Linked DNA regions of Homo sapiens: all the other regions are linked to region 1. Evidence: promoter capture Hi-C in 16 types of primary human blood cells and fetal thymus (Javierre and others, 2016). All regions are on one chromosome and are shown on one strand. Each heading gives the region's core, a stretch centred on a gene start or on the middle of the fragment in contact. The rest is flanking DNA. Distances are from core to core; before and after follow the strand shown.

Evidence for each region. Contacts are between HindIII fragments. The CHiCAGO score rates a contact against its expected background, and 5 or more counts as called.
Region 2: a contact is called between the fragment with the promoter of USP31 here and the fragment with the promoter of LDAF1 in region 1, in 5 of 17 cell types (activated CD4 T cells, total CD8 T cells, total CD4 T cells and 2 more). The highest score is 10.9, in activated CD4 T cells.
Region 3: a contact is called between a fragment that was not itself captured here and the fragment with the promoter of LDAF1 in region 1, in 13 of 17 cell types (naive B cells, total CD4 T cells, total B cells and 10 more). The highest score is 14.1, in naive B cells.
Region 4: a contact is called between a fragment that was not itself captured here and the fragment with the promoter of LDAF1 in region 1, in 12 of 17 cell types (naive B cells, megakaryocytes, erythroblasts and 9 more). The highest score is 17.4, in naive B cells.
Region 5: a fragment that was not itself captured here is called in contact with the fragment with the promoter of LDAF1 in region 1 in 12 of 17 cell types (naive B cells, total CD4 T cells, monocytes and 9 more); the score reaches 16.4 in naive B cells.
Region 6: a fragment that was not itself captured here is called in contact with the fragment with the promoter of LDAF1 in region 1 in 7 of 17 cell types (naive B cells, total CD4 T cells, total CD8 T cells and 4 more); the score reaches 8.8 in naive B cells.
Region 7: a contact is called between a fragment that was not itself captured here and the fragment with the promoter of LDAF1 in region 1, in 5 of 17 cell types (erythroblasts, non-activated CD4 T cells, total B cells and 2 more). The highest score is 11.1, in erythroblasts.

What each region holds. Positions count from the first base shown.
Region 1 is chr16:21,156,923-21,161,304 of GRCh38, forward strand. It overlaps LDAF1 (lipid droplet assembly factor 1), which reads left to right and starts at 1,752. Exons shown (of 5, transcript NM_001301771.2): 1 at 1,752-1,824; 2 at 4,163-4,356. The coding sequence starts at 4,261. It also overlaps a transcript of DNAH3 not described here. RefSeq lists silencers at 1,632-1,761, 1,812-1,991 and enhancers at 2,249-2,749, 2,884-3,033. The HindIII fragment of the contact is 5,830 bases long and covers 1-3,635 here.
Region 2 is chr16:23,147,555-23,151,936 of GRCh38, forward strand. It overlaps USP31 (ubiquitin specific peptidase 31), which reads right to left and starts at 1,898. Exons shown (of 16, transcript NM_020718.4): 1 at 1,084-1,898. The coding sequence starts at 1,716. RefSeq lists silencers at 1,039-1,268, 1,399-1,498, 1,599-1,648, 1,799-1,898 and an enhancer at 2,079-2,298. The HindIII fragment of the contact is 4,661 bases long and covers 1-4,059 here.
Region 3 is chr16:22,688,354-22,692,735 of GRCh38, forward strand. No RefSeq gene overlaps it. Among named protein-coding and RNA genes, the nearest start is that of LINC02890, 77 kb to the left of the region's middle. The HindIII fragment of the contact is 6,669 bases long and covers 1-4,382 here.
Region 4 is chr16:22,666,861-22,671,242 of GRCh38, forward strand. No RefSeq gene overlaps it. Among named protein-coding and RNA genes, the nearest start is that of LINC02890, 56 kb to the left of the region's middle. The HindIII fragment of the contact is 7,075 bases long and covers 1-4,382 here.
Region 5 is chr16:22,649,439-22,653,820 of GRCh38, forward strand. No RefSeq gene overlaps it. Among named protein-coding and RNA genes, the nearest start is that of LINC02890, 38 kb to the left of the region's middle. The HindIII fragment of the contact is 6,772 bases long and covers 1-4,382 here.
Region 6 is chr16:22,630,232-22,634,613 of GRCh38, forward strand. No RefSeq gene overlaps it. Among named protein-coding and RNA genes, the nearest start is that of LINC02890, 19 kb to the left of the region's middle. The HindIII fragment of the contact is 1,649 bases long and covers 1,183-2,831 here.
Region 7 is chr16:22,417,694-22,422,075 of GRCh38, forward strand. It overlaps the pseudogene RRN3P3. Among named protein-coding and RNA genes, the nearest start is that of CDR2-DT, 45 kb to the left of the region's middle. The HindIII fragment of the contact is 2,788 bases long and covers 1,210-3,997 here.

The DNA of each region.
Region 1 (4,382 bases), core at 502-3,001:
TGGAAACCCTAACTCAGCTTTCCAAAGCAACTTCCATTTAGGGAATGATGATTGGAAGGCTGTAATCTAAGGAAACACACACACACACACACACACACACACAATCTTTTCCTGGGTGGGGAACCCAGCATTTTGCAGCTGAACAAAGTGCATGACGCCAGACAAGATTGGCTAAAACTTAAGAATTTAGGGATTCTTGTCTGTCCTATCCCCACCATTAGCTCTTCTTTCTGCTATTGTGGAATTACAGCAGGATTCTGTGGTTTATCATATCATTGTCGTGATCATCATCATAAATCATCATCCCAAGCAAATATTTTTGAGCCCCTACTCTGTGCCTCAATAGGTGCTAAGTTCTCGACAGCCACAGCCACACTATTGCACCAGTCCTCACTACAACCCTGTGATTGCTTCTTTTTTTTTTTTTTTTTTTTTGAGACAGGGTCTCACTCTGTTGCCCAGGCTGGAGTGCAGTGTCTTCACTGCAACTTCTACTTCCCAGGTTCAAGCGATACTTCTGCCTCAGCCTCCCGAGTAGCTGGGATTACAGGTGCGCACCACCATGCCTGGCTAGTTTTTATATTTTTAGTAGAGATGGGGTTTCACCATGTTGGCCAGGCTGGTCTGGAACTCCTGGCCTCAAGTGATCTGCCCACCTCAGCCTCCCAAAGTGCTGGGATTATAGGTGTGAGCCACCGCACCCTGCCAGCTTTTTGTTATCTAAAGACTTATTTTCCAGGTTGCTATGGCCACAGGCAAAGAGGAGAGGTCGGTCAACACAGGTCCCTGTCTGGAAAGTGGCTGAGAACTGTGCAACAGCAGACCAATGGTTGGGCTTATCCCTCTCTCTAATTTATGGTTGAAGCCATGGTTCAGAGAGGTTACTTAGTCACACAGTAAGTTGCCATCATGCTCTATAGCAGTGGTTCTCACCTCGGGACGATGGGGCCTTCCAGGGGACATTTGGCAATATTTTGAGACACAACTGGAGGTGGGGGGGGGCGGTTCTTGTAACTGGCATCTAATGGGTAGAGGCTAGGATATTGCTAAACATTCTACAATCCACAGCTCAGAAACAGAATTATTCCGCCCCAAATGTCAATAGCATACTATTCAGAAACCTTACTCTATAGGGCAGATTTGGGGCCAGGGGAAACAGGGGCTCCTGCTCCGACTTGGATCCATGCAAACCGAGGAATTTGGATTGATTTATCTTGTCTCTCTCAGCCTGGACTTTTTCATGTGTAAAATGGACATCCAATCCATCTGAAAGGATCTCACTGGCTTATGACATTCGCATTTGAGCAGTCATGGTTAAAAACTTCCAGCCAGGGTGATACTTCATCACGTGTGTGTCTTGAGCGCCAGAGACGTTCCAGAGCAGCTGGTTTTAGGCATACAGGAGGGGAAACCCTGACACCCTTGGAAAACTCATTCTCGGCTGCCAGTCTGCCTGTCTTGAAGGTGGTCTGAGCTTTCTCACTCCAAGCCAGTCGTGTGGGAAGGGACACTCTCTGAGCCTCAGTTTCCTCAGCTGTCAACCTCTCAGGGCTTGTTCTAGTGGCTCCGAAAGCCAGTGGGAGCGAGCGCGCTTTGCAAAGCCTTGGGCGCCGGGCCTTGGCGCGCCTTTGCCGGATCCTTCCGGCCACGGGCGGGGCGAGCCCAGAGGAGAAGAGCCGAGGGGCGGTGCCCGGGCCAGGGGGCGGAGGCAGGCGGCTCTGGCTCCCTCTCGGGACGCTCTTTCCTTCTTCCTCTTGTTCCTCCTCCTGCCTCTCTTCGCTTCGCCTGCAAACGCGGTGGGGGCTGCTCGGCGGTCAGGAGCAGGTGAGAGCTCGGAGCTTGGGGGTGGGGGTCCGGGTGCCCCGGGTGGCTAGACCCCTCTCGCCGGGCGGGGACAGAGGAGGAGCGCGGGGGCGACGGCGTGAGCGCGCTATCGGGGTCCCACGCCCGTAGCTTTCTGCCCCGGGGTTAGTGTAAGGGGCGTCTCCTGCTTATGAGTCGCCGGGACGGGGCTGGGAGCGCACGAGGAGACACGATTCCTCCCCACCCCTAAATGCACACTCACCCCGCCACCCCCCAACACACACACACATACACACACACACTACCACTAGATTAGGTAAAATGGTAGCTAGCACCACCACACCCCGAGACTGTGCCCCTTTCTGGGGAACCTGGGGAAGACGTCGAGGCAAACCTCCCTAGGATTATTGAAAACGGGCGCCTTCCTCACCACCCAGCCCCTCTTCTCCACCGAGGTCCCCTTCCCCATCGCTGCAGAGAGATCTGCAAGTATCAAAGGGGGCTTCTTTACCCCCAAATTAATAACTAAGTACTCGACTCCCCTCTGAGTTCCCATTATTCAGTCTCTGTGCCTTCTGGGACGCGGACCCCCTCTCCACCTGCATTTCACTCCCTTCCTCCTCTCCTTGGGTCTCCCTGGCTTTTGAACGCTGAAAGGCTGGGCCCGGATGGGGAGGGGCGGCCAGTGTGAGCTCGAGGCGCCCTGTAGCTCCCATCCCCCAACCAGAGATGTGACCCCTCCTCCCAGCTTGAACTTTCGAGGTAGCCGTTTTCCCCTGGAGGTTCGGGGGTGGGAGGGCCAGGAGATTTATTTGGAGCCTTGGAAGGGGAAAGGGTTAGCTGGTGTTGGCCTGGCCCAGTCCCCCAGGCGTGAAGAAGGCGGGGCACTCCTTGGCCGCGCCGGGTTCTCGCTTTCCCTTCTCGGGAGACAGCTCCGTGCCTGGGGAGGCCCCTCCGAGGAGTGAGTGACCAGGGGGTCTGGGAATTGGTGGCCAGGTAGACGCATTTGAAGGCTGTGGCCGATGGCATTCGCCCCACGCACTCTCTCATCGGACTCCCCAAACCGGTCTGGGTGGCACTTGAGGCTCCCAGGCCAAAGGAGACCTGTAAGGGGAACTCCGCTTGTTTCTGCTTGCTGCAGAGATGAGATTATGGGAACTGAGTGCTGGGAACATCCCAAGTTCAAGACCTACGCCAGAGGCAGCTTCAAAGAGAGAATGTGGGGTGGTGGGATTAGTCCCCTCCTCAACTTTCCCCTCCAAAGGGTTTCTTGTTTTACAAAAGGGAAGTAGCAGAGGATGTCTAGCTGGGATGATTAAAATGTGCTTTAATTTGCATACTAGACCCTGTACAGCTTAGTAGTAGATAAAATTACCCCCTATATGATAAATAAATGTGAGGATCTCTCAATTAATTTTGGCCACGTGGACACAATCTTTTAAGCATTTGTACTGTAGGTCAGGTCAGTTTAAAGGGAGAAATGGAAAAGATATCTCTGTGTCCAGCCAGTTCTGGGAAATATAAAATAAGAATGATTTTTTTTTTATATTTGAAAACTCAACAAGGGTTAAAAAATATATCTAATTTAACCAATTGCCTTTATTAAAAATAAGTAAAAATTGTATGAGATTGGGACACCCCTCAAAATTCCAGGCAGTTTAGTTAGAGTATAATTACTGTGGTGAGGTCTGCCCCCGAGGTGCAGTTCTCCTTAGCAGGGATAGACTTACCCACAAGTAAGTAGATGATGATGTATGGAATGATGGAATTGGGAGCCAACCTGTACAGTAATAAAGAAGAGAAACAGGTCAAGGCTACTGTTGTACAAGGAAAGCTTTCTAGGGAGAATAAAAGGCAATGAGATTTGAAATAGTGTGTTCAGCTTTCTTGCTTTCTGTATATTTTCAGCATTTTGTCAAGCTAAAAAATAAACATAAGCTGTCAGAGATAATACTATTAACATTTTATCATCTTTTTTTAAAAGTATCATACACATCTTTTCACATCACTAAACAGTCACACTATCATTTTAATGACTGAATTTATCATTATTTAACCAATTTTCTCCTAATGGAAATACAGTTAGCTACTTTCCAATGTTTTGCTAGTCATTATATGTTATAAACAGGGATGCAATGCACAGCCTTTTAGTACATTTTGAGATACCTGTTGGATTATTTCCATCATGTTCCTGGAATATAAATTCCTGGATTGAAGTGTGTGCAATCTGAAATTGTTGTGAATATTGCCAGGTTACCCTCCGTCTGCATGCCCACCATCAAGGTATGAGGATGGTAGAAGCTCTCGTCGAACCAGATGGATGAAGACCACTAACGGCTTTTGTTTCCTCTGGTAACAGCAAGAGACAGAGCGACATGAGAGATTGGACCGCGGGCTGCACTGGAGAATTTACTGGTAGGATAATTCATCCCTAAAGAGATTGAAGTGAGCTTCAGAATGGCAAAAGAGGAGCCCCAGAGTATCTCAAGGGACTTGCAGGAACTGCAGAAGAAGCTGTCTCTGCTGATAGACTCCTTCCAGAATAACTCAAAGGTCAGTTTCCAATCACTATGTATAAT
Region 2 (4,382 bases), core at 648-3,147, 2.0 Mb after region 1:
CCACTCGGCTCTCAAATCTCACCCTCTCACTACACTTGCAGCCCCACCAGCAAACAGCAAAGGAGGGCTTGGCCAAGGGCCATACATACCCCCAGGGATGTATAGCTCACCCCTGTAATCCCAGCACTTTGGGAGGCCAAAGCGGGGAGAGTGGCTTGAGGACAAGAGTTCAAGACCAGTCTGGGCAACACAGCAAAACCCCCGTCTCTACAAAAGTGTTTTAAAAATAAAAAATAGGTAGGTATGGTGGTGTGTGTCTGTAGTCCCAGCTATTAAATACTCTGGAAGGTGAGGCGGGAGGATTGCTTGAGCCCAGGAGTTTGAGGCTATGTGAGCACTGCACTCCAGCCTGGGCAACAGAGCAAGACCCTGTCTCTAAAAATAAAATAAAAATAAAAAGTAGCCTGTCAGCACATCAATCACAGCAGCAGGTTTTTCTTTCTTCAAACCACTATCTGATATTATCTCGTTAACTTCTTCAAGTCTTTAATAACAAAAATAATAGCAGCAAATACACATGATATGGAAGTATTTTACTTATCAGGTTGAACCCTATAAAAGTGCCAATCTGTAAATAAAAAACGGTTAAATATGGGTAATTCCACAGTGTTCGATTTAATATATTAACTTGTTTGCAGCTCACAACCACCTTACAAAGTAGGTCCCCCAGATGAAGAAACTGTAAGAACAGAGAGGCTGCTTAACTTACCCGACGTCACATTGCTAGTAAGTGGCAGAACCAGGATTTGAACCCATGCTCAACACTCCCACCCCACAAAAATGCAAGTTCCATGAAGGCGGATAGTCTTGTTCATTGCAACGTCACTCCCATTGCCTATTATCACAGAGTATGGGCACGTATGTAGTAAGTTCTCAATAAATACATGTTTGAGTGAGTGAGTGAGTGAATAAATGAATGAATGAATGAATCTCCTTAAAATCACTGGTCGACTGCCCAGACCACTCGGAGCAACCAATGCAGAAGCCTGCCGGGCCAAGAGGAACCGAGGGAAGGAAGACCTGGGCGGGCAGGTGCCCCAGGGGCTCGGGGTGCAGTGGGGGCGCGGCGGCGCGCGGGCTCACCTTGAAGTCGCGGCTGTGCTGCGGGGTGTACTCCAGGGTCCAGAGGGCCCGCACCAGGTGCGCCAGCTGCTCAGTGACCTCGCCCTGGCCCTGCGCGCCGCGGCCCGCAGGCTGCTCCGGGTCAGGCGAGGGCTCGGGCCGCCCCGCCCGGTACTGGCCCAGCGCCAGGTACTCGGCGAAGAGCTCGGTGTTGCTGAGGCACTGCAGCGTGGCGTTCATGAAGCACGTGTTGCCGTGGTTGCGGAGCCCCGCCACGCCGGGCACCGGCTCGGCGGCGCAAGCGGGCGGCGCGGGAGAGGCGGGCGGCGGCGGGCACGGCGGCGGCGTGGGCGCGGCGGCCGGCCCGGGCGGGAAGCAGCTGCGGAGGCCGCCGCGGTCTGGGGCGGCGCCCTCAGAGCTAAGGTGCGAGAGCGTGGACAGCGTCTTGAGAACGCGGCTCATGAAGCTGCCCACCGAGCGTGCAGAGGAGGGCGAGGAGGGCGAGGAAGGCGCGGCCGGCCCGGACGCCCCGGGGCCCCCCGCGCCGCCGCCGCCAGCGCGGCCGCTCCGAAACAGCCGCTTGCTGAAGGAGCGCTTCTCCTTCCCGCTCGCCGCCGCCGGCGGCCCGGACCCAGGCGCCGTTACCTTGGACATGGCGGCGGCCGCAGACACTCATCACCGCGCCCGCCCGCCCGGCCCGCGGCCCCGCCACGGCCGCCGCCGCATCCCGCAGCGCCGCGCCTCACCGGGCCCGGGGGCTCGACGCCCCACACACCTCAAAGCGCAGCCGAGCCAGCGAGCGAGCGGCGGCCGGCGGGGCCAGCGGGCGCGCGCGCGGTCCGCCCAGCTGAGCCGCTCACGTGACGTGCCTCCCGGCGCCGCCCGCCCGGCGCTGAAGCCGCCTCGGCCGCCATGTTCACTGTGGGACGGTAGCTGCCTCTCCAGCCGGACGCGATGCCTGGAGGCTGCGGGCGCGGTCCTGCTGCGTGAAGCCCGAGGGAGGCCATGTCTAGTGTGGGCGCCGTCCCGGCTTGGAGGAAAAGGCTGGGCTCCCGTTGGATGGTGGATCCCCGGGGTGGGTCTCTGTCTTTGCTGGTCAGATGGCAGAGGCGGGAACGTGCAGGAATCAGGATGCTGTCAGTTACCAGACCGTGCAAGAGCTGGTGGACATGGCCCTGACAGGTCCTGGGCAAGTCAGCCCTGTCTGGCTCCCAAGGGACGTTGCAGATACCTACCCTCTGGGTGCCAGCGGAGCGCAGTCACAGACCCTGGCACGTCCCAGCGGGCTTTTCTTCCTGGCTGCACCTTGGAGTCCCAGCGAAACGCTGTTATCATAACTACTTTCCTTTTCATTCCAGCCTTTAAAACTCCTCCGGGCTCTCCCATCATTCATCATTCCATTCATTCATTCACTCACTCATTCATTCAGCAGTTACTGGGGATATTGCAAAGAATTAAACCTATTAAATTAGAATCAAATGTCATATCCCCAGCGGATTAAATTAGCACGGTTTCTACCTGCCCTCTTGCAGCTTACATTCCTACTGGGTGTTTACAATAGCTGTTGTGTTCCACACATTATGCCAAGCATGCAATATTTTCTTTAATCTTTAATTCACCGTCTTTGAGATTGGTACAGTTCTTATCTGATTCAAACCCAAGTTTTATTTACAACCCCTATACTTGACCTCTAAACCAAAGGTCACGAATCCACAAATATCACAGGTCACAAACCCACAAATGAGTGAAGAATCCTGGTGTTTGAATCATCATATTGACTTTCAAGTGACTTGGGTCTCAGTGTTGGGGGAAATATAAGGAATGATGGGGACTATAGCAGACTTCAAATTAACATCTTTCTAAAGAGGTGGCTGCCACTCAGCTCCAGCCAGTTGTTCCCATGTGAGAACAGGAGCTCAGCGTTACCAGATCATCTGATGTTTTAAGAGAAGGCAGAAATCCTATTTTTAAACGTTGGTTCCATTAAAAAAAAAATAGTGCAGGGAGCAAAAAATAGTACATCTTTGGGATGCCTTTAGTCCAAAATCAACTAGTATATGACCTCCTCTCTATAGGCTCCCCTCTGCTAAAAGGGCTAGTCTGAGTCCTGAGGCAGAAGAGAGAAATCAGAGAAGGGAGAGCCCTTCCTCCTTTTTAAAACATGAAGGCCACCTTACACCACGTTTCAAAGTAAATGGTTTTTACCTTTGACCTCCCTCCCCAATGTAAGTAGGGCTCTATGATGACATCTCCAGGGTGCTCTGCACTGTCCCTAATCGGCTCCACTCTCCTCTTAGTCAAAATTCTTATCTGGACACCAGGAAGAAAGCCATCTGATTATTCACACTAAAATGTGAATGCAATGGCCCTCAACTTCTGGGCAGTTTGATCTAGACTCGAGGGCCTTTGCTGGAGCCGTTCCCTCTCCCTTGAACCTTTCCTTAGCTAACTTAGAACCTTTCTACTTAGCTAACTTCCCCTCATCCTTAAAGTCCCACCTTAGATATCACCCCCTCCAGGAGATGTCCCTTCCACAGGCCCTCTTGGCACCTCTCATTCATGACACTGACTTGACCATATTGCAATTCAGTTTACAATCATCACCTTCACTAATATGTGGGCTTCAACCCAGTAGAGACCCATCTTACTCATTATTCGGTACCCAGTAAGGTAGCCATTATATAACAGGTTGATTATTTGGCAACTTTATACCTAAACAATGTCGTGTGTGTGTGTGTGTGTGTGTGTGTGTGTGTGTGTGTGTATGTGTGTGTGATGGAGTCTCACTCTAACAACCAGGCTGGAGTGCAGTGGCGGGATCTCAGCTCACCTGCAACCCCCATCTCCTGGGTTCAAGCAATTCTCCTGCCTCAGACTCCTGAGTAGCTGGGATTACAGGCACTTGCCAGCACACCTGGCTAATTTTTGTTTTTTGTTTTTTGTTTTGTTTTGTTTTGTGAGCAGCAGCAAGATTTATTGTGAAGAGCAAAAGAATAAAGCTTCCACAGCGTAGAAGGGGACCCGAGCGTGTTGCCCTAATTTTTGTATTTTTAGTAGAGACGGGGTTTCACCATGTTGGCCAGGCTGGTCTCGAACTCCTGACCTCAAGTGATCCACCTGTCTCAGCCTCCCGAAGTGCTGGGATTACAGGCATGAGGCACCGCGCCCGGCCTCTAAACAATATCTGAACTTCTTGGTGGGATACCTAAGAACTGCCTTCCCAGTCTGGGCCCCTCTCACTAAGCTTACAGGTCTTATAGGTCTCCACTGAGCCTCAAAGTTTGACACAGGCTTGAAAAAATTCCTCATTGGAATGTTCA
Region 3 (4,382 bases), core at 1,197-3,696, 1.5 Mb after region 1:
TGAGATATAAATTTTTTATAAACTATATGATTGATCAGACATATGATTCTCTAACTCTGTAGCTTGTCTTGTATTCTCTTCACAGTGTCTTTTAAAGAGCAAACATTTTTTAAGTTGATGAAGTCCAGTTTATCGGTTTGTTCCTTTTTGGGTCATACTTTTGATGATGAATCTAAAAAATCTTTGCCTAGATCAAGATTAAATTTTTCAATGCCCTAAATGTTTTATAATTTTAGGATTTATATTTAGATCTACAATCCATTTTGAATTAAGTTTTATATATGATGTGAGGTATGGATAGGAGTTCGTTTTTCTTTTTGCATATTGGGATCTAATTTTCTCAGTACATTTTTGAAGGAACTTTAATTTCTCCACTGAATTCCCTTTGCATTTTTGTTAAAAATCAGCTGTCCATATATATGGGGCTATTTATGGATTTTTGTATTCTATTTCATTGATCTATTTATCATCTTTTATGCCAGTATTACACTGTCTTGATTATTACAGCTTTGTAATAAGTCTTGGATGGTGTTAGCATTACAACTTTGTTCCTTTTTTTTTTCCAGAGGTATCTTGGCTATTTTAGGTCCTTTGCAGTACCATATACATTTTAGGATGCATCAATTTCTACAAAAAATGCTTCCTGGAGATTTCTGTTTGGATTTCATTGAATCTATACATCAAGTTGGGAAAATTTACACCATCTTAACAATATTGAGTTTTCTTGAACCTATAAGTATAGGTTCAAGACCAACATTTTATTTATTTATTTATTTATTTATTTAATTTATTTATTTATTGCGATGGTATCTCTGTTGCCCAGGCTGGAGTACAGTGGTGCACTCCATCTGGGCTCACTTCAACCTCTGCCTCCCAAGTTAAAGCAATTCTCCTGCCTCAGCCTCCTGAGTAGCTGGGATTACAGGCATGCACCACCACACTCAGCTAATTTTAGTATTTTTAGTACAGATGGGGTTTTACTATGTTGGCCAGGCTGGTCTTGAACTCCTGACTTCAAGTAATCCACCTGCCTCGGTCTCCCAAAGTGCTGGGTTTACAGGCATGAGCCACCATGCCTGGCCTATTTTGGTATTTAACTTCTCTTGGCAGTAGTTAGTAATTTTCATAGTATAAGTTTTTCACATCTTTTGCCAGATTTATCTCTAAGTATTTAATATTTTTGATGTTATTGTGAATGGTATTGTTTATTAATTTCAATTTCTGGTTGTTTATTGGCATCATATAGATATATAATAGGTTTTTGTATCTTGAGATTGTATCCTGCAACTTCACTAAACTCAATTATTGGTTCTAGTAGCTTATTTGTTGCTTCTATCAGATATTCTGCATAGATGACCACATCATCTGTGAAGAAAGAGAGTTTTACTTCTTTCCTATCTGAATGCCACTTTTTTCTTTGCACTACTGCACTGGTTAGAACCTTTAGTACAATGTTGAATAGAAGCAGTGATAGTGAACATACTTGCCTTGTTCTTATCCTCAGAGGAAAGCACTTATTCTTTCATTATGATGTTTGCTATAGGTTATTTGAAGATGCTACATAGTTGAAAATGTTCTCTTCAGGTTCTACATTGCTGAAAATTTTTATTAGAAACGAATGTTGTTAAATATTTGCAAACGAGTTTTTTGCATCTATTGAGATAATTTTTTTTTCTTTTTTAGTTTGTGAATTTGGTAAACTACTTGATTTGTTTTTGAATGTTAAACCAACCTTGCATTTCTGGGATGAAGCACTACTCATCATAATGTATTATCCTTTTTACGTATTGTGGGATTCAATGTGCTAATATTTTGTTTTGCAGTTTTACATGTATAGTCATGAAGAATATCCATCTGCAGCCTTCTTTTCCTGTAATATCTTTGTCTGATTTTAATGGTAGGGTGATAGTGGTCTTATAGAGTCAGCTGGGGAGTATTCTTCCCTGTCCTATTTTCTGGATGACTTTATACAGAATTGGAACTTGCCAAGTATGTGAGCTTGGGGAACATGCATCTGCAAAATTGAGGAATAACAATGCAGTAGTGCCTACATCACAAAATTGTTGTGAGAATTAAATGAGATGATGTATACATTCAATAACTTTTACGTGTTATAATTATTACCATAAGCCAGTGTCTCCGAGACAAGACTAAACTGGAGAATGGGATAGAAAAGGGCCTCAAGGAAGGGTATGGACTGTTTTTCTCTCCAGATATGGTCTCACTTGGGCCTTCATGTGCCTTACTCCTTAAGGTCATTGGAAAGACAAAAACTGGCCCCCCTACTTAATCTCTGCCCACATTAATTAACTTCTGCTAGCCTTGTTTTCTTCATTCACAAGGAAGGGATATTATTAATAGCAAATATTTGTTGGGCACTTTCTAGATGCCAGACACTGTCCTGAGCACTATCCATGTGTCATCACTTAATCTTCACGGCAGCTTATGAGGTAGGTACTATTATGATCCCCAATTTTGGTGATGGGAAACTGAGGCAGAGAGCTGTTAGTAACATTTAAAGTCACACAGCTAATAAATGGCAGAACTGGGATATGAACCCAGGCAGTTCGGCTCTAGAGTGCACTTTCTTACCCTTTCTCTCTTCTTACCTTATAGATGTTGTTGTCATTGGTGGTGGTGGTGGTGGTGTGTGTGCATGTTGATTGAGATAACCTGGAACACATGAAAGATGTCAATAAATGTCACTTTACTTTCCACAAGTTCTACAAAACTCTGGAAGGAATAGCACACTGATTATTTTGTCTTCTCTCAACTTCCATCCCCATGCCAGCCCCAATCCAGGGCTGACTCCAATTAGAAGAGGCTCTGTTTCAGCAGACAGGATAAGCTGTAGTCCCAGAAGAACCCTGACTCTCAGGGTAGAGTGCAATGCCAAGGCCCCCTGGCCCTTTGCTACTCAAAGTGTGGTCCTGGGACCAGCAGCATTAGTATCATCTGGGAGCTTGTTAGAAATGCATGATCTCAGGCTTCACTATGACCTACTGCACCAGAATTTGTATTTTAACAAGACCCCAGGTGATTTGTGTGCACATTAAAGTCTAGGAATCACTGCCCAAAATCAATACTTTTTCTGTTTGATCCTTCCAAGCGGTCACTCATTTGCTGAGGTGATGGGAGTTCACCAATGCATCCCTTCACAGATGCGATGTTTATATTGAGTACACATTTATCTTCTCTGTGCAGGAGATGCAAAGTCAAATCCCTTCAGTTGGCCAGATGGGAACTCTGGTAGAGTGTGCATGTTCTGTCTAAAAGGGACAGCTACCATTTCACTCCAGCCAACTGCTACATGGAAACGCTATCCCAGTGTTTAGATCTTCTGATATTTTCTTTTAAGATGGGCCTCACTCTGTTGCTCAGGTTAGAGTGCAGTGGCATGATCACAGCTCACTGCAGCCTCAACTTCTCAGGCTCAAGTGATTCTCCTGAGTCAGCCTTTGGAGTAGTTGGGACTATAGGCATGCACCACCATGCCTGGCTTATTAATTTTTTTTTTTTTTAGTAGAGACAAGAGCTTGCTATGTTGCCCAGGCTGTTCTTGAACTCCTGAGCTTGAATGAGGTGTGATCCCCACACCTGTTGGGATCTTCTGATATTTTAATCAAAGCTGGAAATGTGGATCTTCATCTGAAATCTCTTATTTGTTAAATGTTAATAACTAATTCAAACTAGTAAAATAACTTTGAGGGCCAAAGAAGCATGTGTGCTGGCCATATTCTCCAAGGGATGCCAGCTTGTGACCTCTGACCTAAAAATGACTTCTAAAGAGTGCAGCTTCTCAAATAAATCAAGTATGTATTGTACATGACAGTCTTTTGAAAGTTCAGAGGTTTTTGCAAAGCATGCAAGATTTTCCATTACTTGGTTGTCTCTACTGTCAGCTACACTCAACCACAAATATTTAATTGCTGTTTCATCTTCTGTACTTTGGCATGTATCTGTTCTCTTTGCTTTGACTATCCATTCCCCTTCATCCGTCTAGCTAGCTTTGATTCATCCTTCAAGATGCAAACCAAATTTCACCTCCTCTGTGAATATTTTCTGGTTTCCCTCCATTACAGTTGCCCACTAGTGCAATTCTCCACCCTGGGCCATGTTGTGCTGGAATCATTTGTTTATATCATTGTTTCCCCTATAAATGCTCAGACGTCAGGGACCAAGTCTTATTCCTAACATCTAGGAAGTGTTAGGCACAGAGTAGATGCACTCACTAACTATTGCAGCATAACCAATCACTCCACAACTTAGCAGCTTGAAACAGCAAACATTTATTGTCTCAGTTTCTGTGGGTTAGGAATTTGGGCATGGCTTTCCTGTGTATCTCTGGCTTGAGGTTGCTTACCAGGTTGCAGTCAGACCTC
Region 4 (4,382 bases), core at 1,362-3,861, 1.5 Mb after region 1:
TCGGCCTCCCAAAGTGCTGGGATTACAGGCATGAGCCACCATGCCCGGCTGATCTATGTTGTTTTAAGTATGTATAGTTTATTCGTTTTTATTGCTTTATGTATACACCACATTTTGTTTACCCATTCACTAATTGATGGATTTAGATGAATTTGAATTTGGATTGTCCACTTTTTTTGGCTGTTATGAATAATGCTGCTTTGAGCAATTGGATATATGTCTTTGCCCTGATATATCCTGCATTTGAATCTTGATTAAATACTTATGAGTGGAATTGCTGGATATTTGGTGCATAACTTAAAAAACTGCCCAATTGTTTTCAAAAGTGGCTGCACAATTTTACATTCCTACCATCAATATATGAGGATTACAGTTACTCCATGTCCTTACTAACATTAGGTATTGTTGGCCTTTTCTATCTAACCATTCTATTAAGTGTGTCATGGCATCTCATTGTGGCTTAAACTTGCATTTCTGCAACAGCTAATGGTATGGAGCAACTTTTTATATGCTTATTATTCATTGGTATATCATCTTCTTTGGTGAACGGTCTATTCTTTCATTTATTTAAAAAATTAGGTTATCTATCTTCATATTATCGAGTGTAAGCATTCACTGTGTTCAGTACAGGTCCTTTATGTGTTTTGCAGATATTTTCTTCCAGTCTATGGCTTATCTTTTCATTTTTCTTGGTGGCATCTTTTAAAGCGCAAAAATGTTAAATTCTGATGAAATCTAACTTGTCAATTTTTTTCTTTCATGAATTGTACTTTTTAGGGTTATTTCTAAGAAATGTTTGCCTAGCTCAAAGTCACAGGAGTTTTCCTCCCAGCCCAAGGTCACACAAGTTTTCCTCCTATGTTTTCTTCTATATGTTTTATAGTTTTAGCTCTTATATTTAGGTTTCTGATCCATTTTGAGTATTTTGAGTTAATTTTTGTGTGTGAGGTAAGGGCCTAAGTTCTTTTTTTTTTTTTTTTTTGACAGGGTCTTGCTCTGTTGCCCAGGCTGGCGTGCAGTGGTGCAATCATAGCTCACTGCAGCCTCAGACTTCTGGGCTTAAGCAATCCTCCTGCCTCAGCCTCTCCTGAGTAGCTGGTACTACAGATGTGCAACACCACCATGCTCAGCTAATTAAAAAAAATGTTTTTTAGAGATCTTTTTAGGTCTTGCTATGTTGCTCAGGCTGGTCTTGAACTCTTGGCCTCAAGCGATCCTCCCGCCTCAGCAGCATATATGTATCCAACTGTTCTAACACCATGTGTTGAAGATTGTCCTTTTCTTCTTGAATTACATTGTCCACTTGTTGAAAGTCATTTGATCATTTGTGTGTGGATTTATTTCTAGGCTCTTTTAGTTTCCTTTTGAGGAATAAGCTCTTTTCTATTTGATGCAGATTCATAGGACAGTAATAGGAGAATTGATCTGGGATTCTCTGAGGCTTTCAACCTAGGATTTGAATCTCGAGCAGAGAGAAAGACTTTGGTTATAATAGTGGTTTCGTAGCCACAAAACTATCAATGGTAACAGCTAGCACCCATATGGCTCTAAGTGCCCAGCACTCATGCAAAACACTTTAATTATATTAATTCATTTAACACTTATAATAAAACCATCAGACACATACTATCATTGTCCCCATTTCTCAGAGGGGAAAACCAAGGCATGCAGAACCTAAGTAACTTGCCAACCTCAAAATTAGTAAGTAGCAGGGCCAGGATTTGAACCCAGGAAGTCTGGCTCCAGAGCCCATGCCTTATTTTTTTAGAGACAGGGGTCTCAGTATGTTGCCCAGGTTGATCTTGAACTCCTGGGCTCAAGCGATCCTCCTGCCTCAGCTTCTTAAATAGCTGGGATTATGGGTGAGCCACTATACCCAGTGTGAGCCTATGCTTTTAAACATCAGGCTATCCTGTGTTGGTTATGATTCCTCTTTTCTACCCTCTGGGGATGCCTTAGTTCCTGTCTTCTTCCAGGCTTGGCCATAGTATAAGCCCATCTTAGAGGATCTGGTCCCAATTTCCTCCCAGGAAATGGTACAGGAGTTGCTGAAGGGGTTTACTTCCTGGGGTAACATTGTCAGATGTACGTTTAAAAAACAACTGTGATTTCCACCACAAAGTGATATTTTCTTCAATAGTGTGTGAGTTTGCTAGGGTTGCCGTAATGAAATTCCACAGGCTGTGTAGCGGAAAGAACAGAAATTTACATCTCACAGTTCTGGAGGCTGGAAGTCCAAGATCAAGATGTTGGCAAGTTTGCTTTCTCTTGAGGCCTCTCTCCCTGGGTTGCAGGCGGCACCTTCTTGCTACATCCTTACATGCCCTTTTCTCTGTGCACACCCATCCCTGGTGTCTCTTCCTCTTCTTATTAGGACACCAATCCTATTGGATTAGGCCCCACCCTTATGACTTCATTTAACCTTAATTACCCCTTTGCAGGCCATATCTCACATTGGGGGTTAGGATTTCAGCATATGAATGAGGGGCAATAATTTAGTCTATAACAAATAGCTACAATTTGATGGAACATTTATTATCTCCTGTCTGTGCTAAGTAATTCCCATGCAGTCTTTCATTTCATCCCATACTAGCTTTGCAACCTTAGACAACTAACAACCTCTCTGTGCTGAGTTTCCTCATCTGCAAAATGGGGACACAAATAGTACCTGCCTTATAGTGTTGTTACGAGTATTACGAGTATTAAATCAACGAATATGTGTAAAGCACCTAGAACAGTGTCTGGTGCAGAGAGTTTGTTAAATAAATAAACCCGCGCTGTGAAGTTGGTAGAATTCACATCCAAAGATAAGCAAACCAAGCTCCTCTGAGGATATGAAGCAAGCACTTTGTCCAAGGTCAACTGGCAGAAACATGTTTAAATTCAGTGCTGTGGGCAAGGTGCGGTGGCTTACACCTGTAATCCCAGCACTTTGGGAAGCTGAGGTGGGCAGATCACCTGAGGCCAGGAGTTCGAGACCAACCTGGCTGACATGGTGAAATCCCGTCTCTACTAAAAATACAAAAATTAGCCAGGTGTGGTGGCGGATACCTGTAATCCCAGCTACATGGGATGCTGAGGCAAGAGAATCTCTTGAACTTGGGAGTTGGAGGTTGCAGTGAGACGAGGTCGTGCTACTGCCCTCCAGCCTAGGCAACAGAGCAAGACTCCGTCTCAAAAAAAAAATCACTGTCATCCTGGATCCTTGTAATGGGCTCAGGAACTGGCCCCAGAGTCCTGGTAGATTCTAGCGTGCGTCTCCAGGGAAGGAGAGACTGACCAATCTTACATTTGGAGAGCAGGACTTAAGAAAAAGCAATCACCAACGGCCATTCTGCCCAAGCAGAACTCGCACTCTGATCCACTGCAATCCACTGCCTCGAGTGATCGGTAGGGAATTTTTCAGGTGAGGAAGCGGGAATACAGCAGAGAAATCTATGCCATGCTTTGGGAGAAAGAGCAGGAATTCCATGTGACTGAAGCGGCAGGTGGCTGGGGGGATAGGGCAGTGGGGAGGCAGGGGCTTGGAAAGTGGGGAAGCTGAGCCACAGTTGTGCACATTGGGACTTGTCTGTCCTGTCTGCCCTTTGTGTTGTAGGCCACAAGGATGCACTGGAGAGTTTTATGCAGGATCACTGACTGCATCAGTATCAAGCCACAAAAATGGATTCTGGCCAACTTAAGCCAAAAAAACAAAAGCTAAAATAGAAAGAAAGCTCTTTTGAAAAGGCTGCCTCAAAGATCTAGGCAACAGGAACTAACTGAAAACCCATTAAGGTACCTTACCACGTTTCTCCGGAATGGGGCCTGGGGGGCACCTCCAGGCCTATTCTAGGGAGAGCTAATCTGATTGGTTTAGCCTGGGTCACATGACCATGCCTGGGCAGGCAGAGAGCCTCTTGATTGACAGTCCCACCCGACAGTTTTGAATGAGGGAGGGAGGTTCCCCAGCGTGAGGGTGGGTGCTGTTGCCTGAGGAAGGGGAGTTGTTTAAAACAAGAGGAGAAGCTGCAAGTAGACTACTAGTAACGAGAGAGCAGACCTGAGAAGCAAACCAGAAAAAGGGACTTCTATTAATTTGTCACCAGGACACACTGCCGTTTCATGTGCAATGCAGCTGTGCTTCAAATCGGCCCCCTGTGTAATTTCAAGGATAAATATAGAGCTTTTTCAATAGTTAAAAAAAATCTAATGGCAAGAACTAGATACATTTCTGTGCGTTTTATGAAGAAATTTACTATTTTTTTGAGTAGAGAATACTTGAGTAATATATTCATGTAGTTCAGAACTCAACATGATGCAAAAATATATACACGTGACAGTCTCATTCACATCCCATTCTCACCCTCAGGCTTATATGTAAGCACTTACTTGTTTCTTAT
Region 5 (4,382 bases), core at 1,404-3,903, 1.5 Mb after region 1:
TGTATGTAGGTGTCCAAATGATGTCATTAGCTCTTTCTCTTCCCCCACTCTAACTCGTTTTCTCTGTATCTACTTTCTTTTTTATCAAACTCTATCTACATGGCAGCAAATATGGCATTGGCACCTGTAGGTTCCCATTGCTTTTATTGCAGTGATCCCAGAAACAAGACTGCCTCTTTTTTTTTTTTTTTTTTTTTTTTTGATAGTTTCAGGAAAAATAGTTGGGAGGGTGCCAGGGCTAGTTTTTCTGTTTCTTTTCTTTTTTAAACTTTTATTTTAAGTTCAGGGGTACAAGTGCAGGTTTGCTACATAGGTAAACTTGTGTCATGGGGGTTTGCTGTAGGTTATTTAATCATCCAGGAATTAAGCCTAGTACCTATTAGTTATGTTTCTGGATCCTCTCCTGCTCCCACCCTCCACTCTCTGAAAGGCCCCAGTGTGTGTTTTTCCCCTCTATGTGTCCATGTGTTCTTATCATTTAGCTCCCACTTATGAGAACGTGTGGTATTTAGTTTTCTGTTCATGTGTTAGTTTGCTAAGGATAATGGCCCCCAGCTCCATCTGTGTGCCTGCAAGGGACATAATCTTGTTTTTTATGGCTGCAGAGTATTCCAGGGTGTATATGTACCACATTTTCTTTATCCATCTCTCATTGAAGGGTATTTAGGTTGATCTAACCAGTGCTAATTTTTCTAATCCACAAATAACTTCTGCAAATTGAAAAAGACTTAAAAATCCAGTACAGAAATAGGTAAAGAATAGAAGTAGGCAATCTTTAGAAGTGGAAATGCAAATAGCCAATAAACAAATGAAATTATGCTCATTCTTTTCGGGGAAGGGGAAATGTAAATAAAAATGACAATAGATTACTTTAGAAATTAATCAATTTGACCCAAACAGAAATGATTTATTACCATCACTTATGATTGTATGGAGGAAGAAAGGACTCTCATACTTTGCTGTTATGAGTAAGAATTGCTTTAACCATTCAAGAAAAATCTGAAAGTAGCTACTGGAATTCAAAATATACTTATGCTCAGAAATTTCACTTTTGGCATGCAGAAATGGAAGTACCAATTCCACAGAAAAATGTTTATTACTTTAAGTACCTGATTCTTGCAAAAATCTGGAAACAAAATTAATATCCAAAAGCAGGGATTTATTGAATAAATTATAATGTTTTATGTTTCAGAATTTTATGCAACTGTTGAAAAAAGCCAGGTATATGGAGAGATGCCTATACTTTCTTGTTAAGTAAAGAAGCACATTTGTGTAATATCATCCTATTTCTGAAAAAAAAAAAAAGAAAGAAAGAAAACCTTTCATCTGGTTTTCATGTATGATGCTTGCATGAACTCAGGAAAAACATGGAAAAAATACATAGTAAATTGTTGACATTAGTTACTTTGAAGGGAAGGCGGCATGTGACATATACTGCAACTTGAATTTGAAGTGAAAATTCATTAAAGTGCATATAAAACAGGATAACTTGTACCTGTGTCCTTAAGACAAATTACCGCAAAGGACAGGTACAGTGTGACATCCTAAATCTTGGGGTAGGCATAAGGGGATATGCATGTCTTGTCAAGGTCTGTTTCATGGTGTTTAAAGAACTTTATTTTATTTTATTTTATTTTTATTTTTTTCTTTGCCTTCTTTTTTTTTCTTTTTTTTCCTATTTATTTATTTATTTTACTTTAAGTTCTAGGGTACATGTGCACAATGTGCAGGTTTGTTACATATGTATACATGTGCCATGTTGGTGTGCTGTACCCGTTAACTCGTCATTTACATTAGGTATATCTCCTAATGCTATCACTCCCCGCTCCCCCCACCCCCTGGCAGGCCCCAATGTGTGATGTTCCCCACCCTGTGTCCATGTGTTCTTATTGTTCAATTCCCACCTATGAGTGAGAACATGTGGTGTTTGGTTTTCTGTCCTTGCGATAGTTTGCTCAGAATGATGGTTTCCAGCTTCATCCATGTCCCTATAAAGGACATGAACTCATTCTTTTTTATGGCTGCATAGTATTCCATGGTGTATATTTTTTTGAGACAGGGTATCATTCTGTCGCCCAGGCTGGAGTGCAGTGGCACAATCACAGCTCATTGCAGCCTCAATCTCCCTGGGCTCAGGTGATCCTCCCACCTCATCCTCCCAAGTAGCTAGGACTACAGGTGCTCACCACCGCACCCCAGCTGACTTAAAAATATTTTTTAGTGATGGGGTCTCATTATGTTGCCCAGGCTGGTCTTGAACTCCTGGTCTCAAGCAATCCTCCTGCCTCAGCCTCTCAAAGTGCTGGGATTACAGGTGTGAAACACCATGCTTGGCCCAGAAGAAGTTTAGACAAATGAAATTTAACAGAGTTTAACTGAGCAAAGAACAATTTGAGAATAGGGCAGTCCTCCTTTTCAGAGAGACTCCTGCACTGCCGTGTGGTTGGAGAGGATTTATGGACAGAAAAGGGAGGTGAGGTGCAGAAACAGCTGGCTTGGTCACAGCTTGGCATTTGCCATATTTGAACACAGTTTGAACAGTTGGTTGCCTGTGATTGGCCGAAACTTGGTGATTGGCACAAGAGTAGATTACAGACTATTGACACATCCAGTTAGGTTACAGTTCACTAAGTGCGGAGAAACCTTAGGCCCAACTTAGAATATGTCAGGAGGGGCTGGGTGCAGTGGCTCACGCCTGTAATCTCAGCACTTTGGGAGGCCGAGGCAGGTGGATCACCTGAGGTCAGGAGTTCGAGACCAGCCTGGCCAACACGGTGAAACCCCATCTCTACTAAAAATACAAAAATTAGCCGGGTGTGGTGGCATATGCTTGTAATCCCAGCTACTCCAGAGGCTGAGACAAGAGAATCGCTTGAACCCGGGAGGCGGAGTTGCAGCGAGCCGAGATTGTGTCATTGCACTCCAGCCTGGGTAACAGAGAGAGGCTCTGCCTCAAAAAAAAAAAAAAAAAAAAAAATCACCAAGATGTTACAGTGTGACTCTATGTAAGGAAATACAAATGATTCAATGATGCAGATATTTTTAATAAAATATGAATTACAAAAATTGAATTATGAAAAAGTAATGTCTGGAATAAAAAAAATATACAAAAATAAAAAGTGCTTGGGCATGCTGGCTCACACCTGTAATCCCAGCAACTTTTTGGGAGGCCGAGGTGGGAGGATTGCTTGAGGCCAGGAGTCTGAGACCATCCTGGGCAATATTGTGAGATCCTGATCTTTACAAAAAATAAAAAACTATCTGGGCTTGGAGGTGTGCACCTGTATTTCCAGCTACTTCGGAGGCTGAGGTGGTAGGATCCCTTGAGACCAGGAGTTTGAAGATGCAGTGAGCTATGATCACACCACTGCACTCCAGCCTGGGTGACAGAATAAGACCCCATCTCTTTAAAAAATAAAATAAATAAAAATAGAAAAGTTAAAGTATTATCAAATGGTCATTTTAAAATAGCCTCCTTAAACAGATTTTTCTAATGTATTTGTTCTCTTCAAATTTTCTGGTGACAAATTTATTCCTATACTCAATGAATGGTTCCAGATTATAGAAAACCATGGAAAACTTTCTAATTCATTTTACGAGAACGATACAACCCTGAAATTCAATCTTGAAGAGTATAGTGGAAAAAAAATAGAACAGAAGACCAAGGCACTAGATGAAAAACTATAAATAAAATAATAGCAAACAGAATTCAATAATACATTAATAGAGTCACTAACCATGACCAAGGAGGATTTAGCCTAGGAATGCAAAGACGTTTGTTTTTCAAATCATTTTATTAAAAAAAAAATAATAAAATCTTATAGGTTACAGTGACACTTTTTGTACCCCTCCTGGGTTTTCTTCTCTTCCTTTTTCCATCCCCTATAAATTGCAAAAACCAGAGATAAGGACTATTTTGAAGTTGGTATTTATCTTTCCAATATATGTTTCATATCCCTACCACTTTTATAAGTATCCATCAATATTTAGCTACATATTATCTTGTATGTTCTTTAAAATTCCATAACTGGTTTTATTCTAGGTGTGTTCCTGTGGAACTGGCTTTTGTTCATTTAGCCTTCTGTTTTTGAGATTATCCATGTTGATACAAGTAGATCTAGCTCATTCATTGTATAAATGTACTGGTGGGGCATGGTGGCTCATGCCTGTAATCCCAGCACTTTGGGAGGCGGAGGTGGGTGGATCACATGAGGTCAGGAGTTCGAGACCAGCCTGACCAACATGGTGAAGCCCTGACTCTACTAAAAATACAAAATTTAGCCGGGAGTGATGGTGCGTGCCTTAGTCCCAGCTACTCGGGAGGCTGAGACAGGAGAATCGCTTGAACCCGGGAGGCAGAGGTTGCAGTGAGCCAAGATCAT
Region 6 (4,382 bases), core at 757-3,256, 1.5 Mb after region 1:
CTTGTTGTCTAGTTGACAAATAAAAATTGTAAATGTTGACCATGTGTGGTGGCTCACGCCTGTAGTCCCAGCACTTTACGAGGCCAAGGTGGGAGGACAGCTTGAGTTCAGGAGTTTCAGACCAGCCTGGGCAACATGGTGAGACCTTGTCTCTACAAAAAATACAAAAAGTAGCTGGGCATGGTGGCATGTGCCTGTGGTGCCAGCTACTCAGGAGGCTGAGTCTGGAGAATCGCTTAAGCCCAGGAGTTCAAAGCTGCAGTGAGTGATGATTGTGCCACTGCACTCTAGCCTGGGCGACAGAGAGAGACCTTGTCACAGAAAAAAAATTGTATGTTTATGGTGTACAGTGTGATGTTTTGATATATGTATACATTGTGGGATGGCTAAATCAACCTAATTAACATATTTACCACCTCACAGACTTATTTTTTTTTGTTGTGAGAACATTTAAAATCTATTCTTAGCCTGGGCGTGGTGGCTTACACCTGTAATCCCAGCACTTTGGGAGGCCAAGGCAGGCAGATCACCTGAGGTCAGGAGATAGAGACCATCCTGGCTAACATGGTGAAACCCCATTTCTACTAAAAATACAAAAAATTAGCAGGGTGTCGTGGTGCACCTGTAGTCCCAGCTACTCAGGAGGCTGAGGCAGAAGAATCACTTGAACCAAGGAGGCTGAGGTTGCAGTGAGCCGAGATCACACCACTGCACTCCAGCCTGGGCAACAGAGTGAGACTCTGTCTCAAAAAAAAAAATCTACTCTTAGCAATTTTCAAGTATACAATACATTATTATTATTATTATTATTAATTATTATTATTATTACTTTGGACAGAGTCTTGCTCTGTTGCCCAGGCTGGAGTGCAGTGGTACCATCTCAGCTCACTGCAACCTCCCCCTCCCCAGTTCAAGTGATTCTCATGTCTCAGCCTCCCAAGTAGCTGGGATTACAGGCGCACGCCACTATACCAGGCTAAGTTTTGTATTTTTTGTAGAGATGAGGTTTCACCATGTTGGCCAGGCTGCTCTCGAACTCCTGAACTCAAGCTATCTGCCCACCTCGGCCTCCTAAAGGGCTAGGATTACAGCCGTGAGTCACTACACCTTGCTTACAATACGTTATTATTAACTATAGTCACCATGCTATGCAATGGATCTCCTGAACTTATTCCTAACTGAAGCTTTGTACCCTTTGACCTACATCTGCCCATCGCTTTCCCCTCCCCTTGCCCCTGACAATCACCATTCTCGATTTTTCTTACGCAATAGTAAATCTTGGAGATTTGTCCATGTTAGTAGACATACATCTACCTCGTGGTTTTAACTCCTGCATAATATTCAAAGTATGAACGTGCCACAGTTTATTCTGTAACTCCACTAATGGACATTTTGGTTATTTCTACTGTGTTTTCCTCTATAATAAGCAGTACTACAACAAATATCCTTCTATATACCTCCTTATGCACATGTGTGAGTGATTCTCTATGGTTGATACCAAGACTGAAATTTCTGGGCCATGAGGCAGGCCCATGTTAAAATTAAGTTCTCCTTTTTGAATAGGTCACACATTTAGTTAATTCAAAAATAAAAAATGATATGCAAGATATATGTCACAAAGTCTTTCCCCCATCTTTTTCCTAATCTATTTTCCCTTCTCTCACCCCTGTAGATATTAATTTGTTGTGTATACCTCCACAGTTCCTTTATGAAAACAAAGCAAAGAAGAACATGTATTCCTATTTTCTCTTCTTTCTTACACAAAAGATACCATACTATATATATATATATATATATATATATATATATATTCTTCTTTATTTCACTTTTTTTCACTTGATAATATATCTTGGAGCTCTTCCCATAACCATAAATCTTCTATAACTATAGAGAGTGTATACTCATGCTATTTTTTTTTTTTTTTTTTGGAGACAGAGTCTTGCTCTGTGGCCCAGGCTGGAGTGCAGTGGCACAATCTCAGCTCACTGCAACCTCTGCCTCCTGGGTTCAAGTGATTCTATTGCCTCAGCCTCCTGAGTGGCTGGGATTACAGGCACGTGCCACCACGCCTGGCTAATTTTTGTACTTTTAGTAGAGATGGGGTTTCACCATGTTGGCCAGGCTGGTCTTGAACTCCTGACCTCAAGTGATCCACCTGCCTTGGCCTCCCAAAGTGCTGGGATTACAGGTGTGAGCCACAGCACCCGGCTAACTCATGCCTTTTTACATAGTATTTAATTTACATAGTATTTCTTTACATAGATGTGCTATAATTTTTTTAACTAGTCTCTTATAGATCACTTTTCCCTGATCTTTTGCTACTACAAACAAGACATAAGCATTTTATTATTTTTTAAAATTTTTGTAGATTTAGGCTTTGAGATGTTTTATTCATTCATTTAGTTATCCAAGTATGTATGTCTGTACTAAATATTTGCTAAGGTCTTGTGTGGTGGCATTATCTTAGGCACTGCTGATAACAGGATTCACAGAACAGGCACAGCCTTTCTTCTCACAATGCTTAAGATCTTGTTAGGACAACAGACCTTGGAAAGAAAACACAATCGTAATGTATTTCCATAATGAATATGAACCTCTGTTAACCCATCCAAGATTTTTTTTTTCCCTCGTGATCGCACATTTTGTGGAGGAAATGTATAATTATGCTTGTGAGACAGAGAAAAACTAACTGGGCCATGAGGACCTGAATCCATTGCCTCCGTAATTATTACAGAGACAGGCACATTTTAAATTTCAATAGACATAGCCATGCTGCCTTTCAAAGGGGTTGTGCAGTTTACATGTCCACCTGGGTGGATTTTATTTTTAAAAGCTTTTTATTTATACTTATTTAATTTAAAAAATTATTTATTTATTTAGAGACAGGATCTCACTTTGTCACTCATGCTGGAGTGCAGTGACGTGAGATCGTAGCTCATTGTAGCCTTGAATTCCTGGGCTTAAGGGATTCTCTTGCCTCAGCCTCCCTGTAGCTGGGCCTACAGGCACACCTCACCATGCTTAGCTAATTTTTTATGTTTTGTAGAGATGGGGATGTCTTGCTATGTTGCCCAGGCTGGTCCTAAACTCCTGGCCTCAAGCGATCCTCTCACCTCGGCCTCCCAAAGTGTTGGGATTACAGGCATGAGCCACAACAGCTGGCCTTGGGTGGATTTTTAAAGGAGCCAAAATAGAACAGACACTGGCACCTTCTGCTTTAGCCAGATAAAACTCCTGTGGTTCCCAGAACAGGACGCACGTCGTCAAGTGTTCTTGCAACAGCAAGAGAACACTCTTGATGGAAACCCCCCTTTCTACAGTTTGTCTGTCTAGCTAACATCTTCCTCTAAGCTACACCATGAAAATCTGTGGCACCATCTCCAACCCCTGTAGGTAGAGTTGATCACCCCTCCTCTGTATCACCACTGACATTTGCCCATATCTCTATTTTTGTACTTGTTCCTAGTTCGTTTTCTTTCCCGGCCTCGTCTCACTTCCTTCATTGTGGACTTCTTGAAGGAAGAGACCATATCTTTATTTACCTTTGTATTCCTAAAGCCTAAGACAGTGCCTGTTTCCGAATAGCTGCTTCATCATGTTGGCTAATGAATAAATTAACAAATAAATGATCACTGAAAATGGAGATGAAACCACCAAATTGAATTTGGACAATGAATCCTGGGGTGTGTTTATCCACTAGTTTGCCAATCATGCAGATGAGCTTATCTGCGTCTGCTGATGGGATTTCGGCATAATTTGCATGCTAGAGGAGGAGGCTGCCAATTCACAGAGGATTCTTCTAGGCATTTGTCATTCATTATAGAACATAAGCTTGCATTGGAGTCTATGCAGCACAGCATCAGCCAATTAGAGGAGATTGTAGCTTTGGAAACAAACATCTGCTTGATGCTGGGTAAATAATATTTAGAGTCTGGTGTTTTATGCCTGTCCATGTGATTAATTTGAATCCTGTATAATTTTGTATTTGATCATGTGGGACTCACAGAGATCATTTCTATTACCTAAGTTACAAAAGCCATATCTGGCATTTCCCAGGATTGGTCCCATGTTTTAGGAGAGGCTTTCTGGTTTGGGTCACACCTGGGACTGGAGGTAAGTGTCTATACAGTGGTAGCCAACTTCCATAAAGGAAAATAGAGAAGGACGTCTGTCTCCAAATTCTATCCTGGATAACACTTCTGTAGAAAATTCAGGAGTATTGGGAAAACGTGAATGTCTTTTCTTAGCTGTTGCTAATTGGTTCTCCTCTTTCCAGGGGTAAGGAGGTTAAAAGAAATGTAGTGAGTTGAGTACCATTTATAAAGTTCCTACTCCATGGCAGTTCTTCCCCAGATGCTTTTCTTACATTTTCCCCATTTGAA
Region 7 (4,382 bases), core at 1,354-3,853, 1.3 Mb after region 1:
ATACAAAAAAAATTAGCCAGGCATGGCGGCAGGTGCCTGTAGTCCCAGCTACTCGGGAGGCTGAGTCAGGAGAATGGCGTGAACCCGGGAGGCAGAGCTTGCAGTGAGCCAAGATTGCGCCACTGCACTCCAGCCTGGGTGACAGAGCCAGACTCTGTCTCAAAAAAAAAAAAAAAAATTAGCCGGGAGTGGTGGCACATGCCCATAGTCCCAGCTACTTGGGAGGCTGAGGTAGGAGTATCACTTGAGCCCAGGAATTCGAGGCTGTTGTGAGCTATGATCTCACTACTGTACTCCAGCCTGGGCAACAGAGTGAGAGCCTGTGTCACAATCAATCAATCAGTCATTAGGCTGGGCTCTGTGACTCATGTCTGTAATCCCAGAACTTTGGGAGGCTGAGGCAGGCAGATCACCTGAGGTCAGGAGTTTGAGACCACCCTGGCCAACATGGTGGAACCCTGTCTCTACTAAAAATACAAAAATTAGCCGGGCGAGGTGGTGCGTGCCTATAATCCCAGCTACTCAGCAGGCTGAGGCAAGAGAATCATTGGAACCCGGGAGGCAGAAGTCACAGTGAGCCAAGATCACGCCACTGCACTCCAGCCTGGGCAATAGAGCGAGACTCTGTCTCAAATAAATAAATAAATAAATAAATAAATAAATAAATAAAATTAAAACCCTGGTGGCTAAAAGAGGACAGGAACAGAATCTGGAATAGAAAAGACCCAAAGCCCTGTATTTCCTGTTATAGCTTATTTGCTGATAGATGTCAGAGCAATGGAGGAATGGCAAGTGTGTTTTTAACCTATCTCTCTGAATTTTCTTTGTATTCTCAAAGAACACGAAGGCCCTAAAGCAATAGTTCTCAACCTTGTTGCACATTAGAATCACTTGGAGCCTGAAAAAGTCCTGATGCCCAGACCATACCCTAGACCAGTTAAATCAGAATGTCTGGGGCGTGAGATCCAGGCATATGTGTTTTTTTAAAATATAAAACAATACTTCATTTCCTTTATTACCTAGTTGTATCGTTAAAATAAGAACAAATACAGTGGAATGGAATACTTCATATGACTTCATGTGAAAAATACTTCATTATACAATAAACAACCCTCATGCATTTCAACATTGCCACCAGTAACACTAAAGACTCCCAGTTCTATTCATATGTGATCATCACTGCCCTACACCCCAACCCCAGCTCCTCCAAGCTTCAACAGGCATCAGTATTTTTCGTAGCCCCTGGCTTATTCCATCATGCAGCCAATGTGGGAATCTAGAGATTGACTTCCTTGGAAACAGAGGCTCTAGAGACTAATTCTTATTGGCTCAGCTATAGACACGTTGGCAGCCAGACACGTTGGCACACTAGTCTCATGGTACTATAAGCATTTTTTAGAGGTATAAACTCAAACAGCACACTCAAGTGTCATTTATCTTTGAGTGATAATTTAACAGTTGGCATTTGGTGGCCCCACATAGCTAATGCTAATCTGAAAGTGTCCAACTGAAGTCCACAGGTTAATTGCACACTTAGCAGGATATGGTGTGATGATCAGAGAATTCTTTGAGATTCACCAGTGTAAAGAATTTAGCAAAAATGTGGCTGGGCATGGTGGCTCTCGCCTGTCATTGGATCCCTTGAGTCCAGGAGTTCAAGGCCAGACTGGGCAACATGGTAAGACCCTGTCTCTACAAAAAATACACAAATTAGCCACATGTGGTGGTGCACACCTGTAGTTCCAGCTACTCAGGAGGCTGAGGCAAGAGAATTTCTTGAGAATTTCTTGAGCCCATCAACAGGTTTTGAATGTTCCAGTCTTTTTTTTTTTTTTTTTTTTTTTTTTTTTTGAGTCAGGGGTCTCATTCTGTCACCCAGGCTGGAGTGCAGTGGTGCGATCATGGCTCACTGCAGCCTCAACCTCCTGGGCGCAAGCCATCCTCCCCTCTCTGCCTCCTGAGTAGCTGGGACAACCATGCCCGGCTAATTTTTTTTACAAGACCACTGTTAAAAGCCCGGAAGAATCCTGCAGCTCGCTGTGGTGGGCTGTTTTGCGTGTGCTAGAGTCTATTCAGCATTTCAGACAGAAAAGCCTCAGCATTCCTCTTCTGTGGGTCTCCACCGTAGCTCCTTTGAAATCTCTGCTTTCTCACACTTTCCCATCTGAGTCTTTGTGCCATGGCCGTCCCCTCCTCTCCAATACGAAGAGCCCACACTCAGTTTCCCTCCCTCCTCCTCCATCCCACACTGCCCGAGCACCTCACCTCCCAATGACTGACTCGTCCCCGGTCTTGCACACACCTGGGGAGTGTAGCTGGCCTGTCCTGCACACCAGCCTTGCAGGCTCAGTGAGTAGACCATCCTTGTCTGCTCTTGCCGGGTGCAGCTGTGTGTAGTGGCCCAAGGGGGGGTCATCTGGGAGGGCACCAGGAAGCATAAGTGACATGCACCATGAGGAAGCGTAAGTGATGTCCACCACAAGAGGTGTGGGGAGCGGCAGCAGCGCGTTCATCCACTGTGCTTGACTTTGTTTATTTCCCCGATGACCTTTTCCCGGACTTCCTAGCTGGATCTCCGTGAGTGCCAGGGCTGGGTCTGGGAAGGGTTTGGGACCCAGCACATCACCTGGCACAGTCAGTGTTTGCTCAATATTTGCTGAGAGAAAACCCCAGCCATGTCACCGACTTACAATAGGAGCTTCTCGTACGGAGCAGAAATGTGTTGTTGCCTGTGGCTTTGCAGGAGCTCCGAGCAGTGGCGAGAGGAAGTCATGGGTGACCATGGTAGGCATTACCGCCTGATGGGGTTGCTGGCTGGTCCTGAGCTCATCACCGTCCATCTCCTGCATCCACAGTGATTTCTATTAAGTGCAGCTTTTCGTCAGGCAACCACCAACGGCACTGAGGGGTGGGATGATGGCAAATTGACCAAAACGCTCAGGGGGTGCTAGCCACGCGGCGGGTGCAGATGTGGACTCCCCAGCCCCACGAGCTTGGAGTGCCATTCAGCCCCGCTGCACCCCCGTCTGTCTCCAAGGCGGAGGAACTGGGGTGGGAGGAGGAGGCACAGAGCTGTCTGAACACAGCTAGAGCCACTCACTGGCCCCTGCAGGGGAGCAACGCAGTGGGGAAGCCTGGAGGGAGGGAAGGTGCAGTTGCAGTGGGTGGGCACGGGGGCTCAGCTACTGGCACAGAGAAACACAAGGGAACTACGAAAGAGCAGGAGGGAGGACGCGGGGGTGGGCGCAGGGCTGGAGGACCGGGTGGTCCACAAGGTGGTCAGGACCTCAGCTGGTGGCTGGGCTTGGGAGGGGCTGGCATGGAGTCACGGGCCACCATCCCCTAAGTGTTTCCATAGGCAAGGTTCTCATTCCCCTAGTCAGGGGAGGGGACGGGTACAGAGAAGCGCAGCAATGAGCCAGGAACAGAGCTGAGATGAAACCTCAGCCTCCCGTCTTCAGAATGAGAATTAATCCACAGAGGAGCTAAGGAAAATGCCGGGCACCGAGTTGACGGGTGAGGGGTGTGAGCCATGTGGCCGGCATGGCCGCCCCACCACCAGCTCCATCCTGAGCACTTCACAGACATGGCCCTCTTCATCCACACAACTGCCCCAGGAGCCACTGAATGAGGCTCGATGAAACCTCAACTCGCGTTGCAGCGCACGTCTGATCACACTCGCCTTTGATCACTTTTATCACTGGGGATCCTGCAGTCAGGGCTTTGTGTCTGCAGCGGTCCCTGGGAAACAATCTACAACTCGAAGCTCCACCAAACTCACTCAGAGTCACAAAATTTCTATCACTGACTGCTTTCCTCCAAGGCCCAAACTGGATTTATAAACTTCCAAAGAAAACTTCATATTGAAAAAGCGATGTACCCACAGCATTGTAGAACGATGTTCACAAAGGAAAAACAAGGCCGGGCGTGGTGGAGTGAGGCTCTAGTCCCAGCTACTTGGGAGGCTAAGGTGAGAGGGTGGTTTGAGCTCAGGAGAAGCTTGCAGTGAGCCCAGATGCACTTCAGCCTGGGCAACAGTGCTAGATCCTGTGTCAAAAATAATTTTTTTTTTTTTTTTGGTGGCTCACATCTGTAGATGCAGCTACTCAGGAGGCTGAGGTGGGAGGATCAATTGAGCTCCGGAGGTCGAGGCTGCAGTGGGCTGTGATTGCACCACTGCACTGTAGCCTGGGCGACAGAGCAAGATCCTGTCTCCAAAAAAAAAAAAAGGAAAAACTATTGTTTTTGCCATCGCCACCCAGTAAACATAGTTACTGATATTTTTACTTGCAGTGTAACTTTCTGGCCCCTTCCCATAATCACATGTATTTGGTAAGCTTTTGTTTTCAAAATAAGCCAATAACATTTAATAAGAAACAACA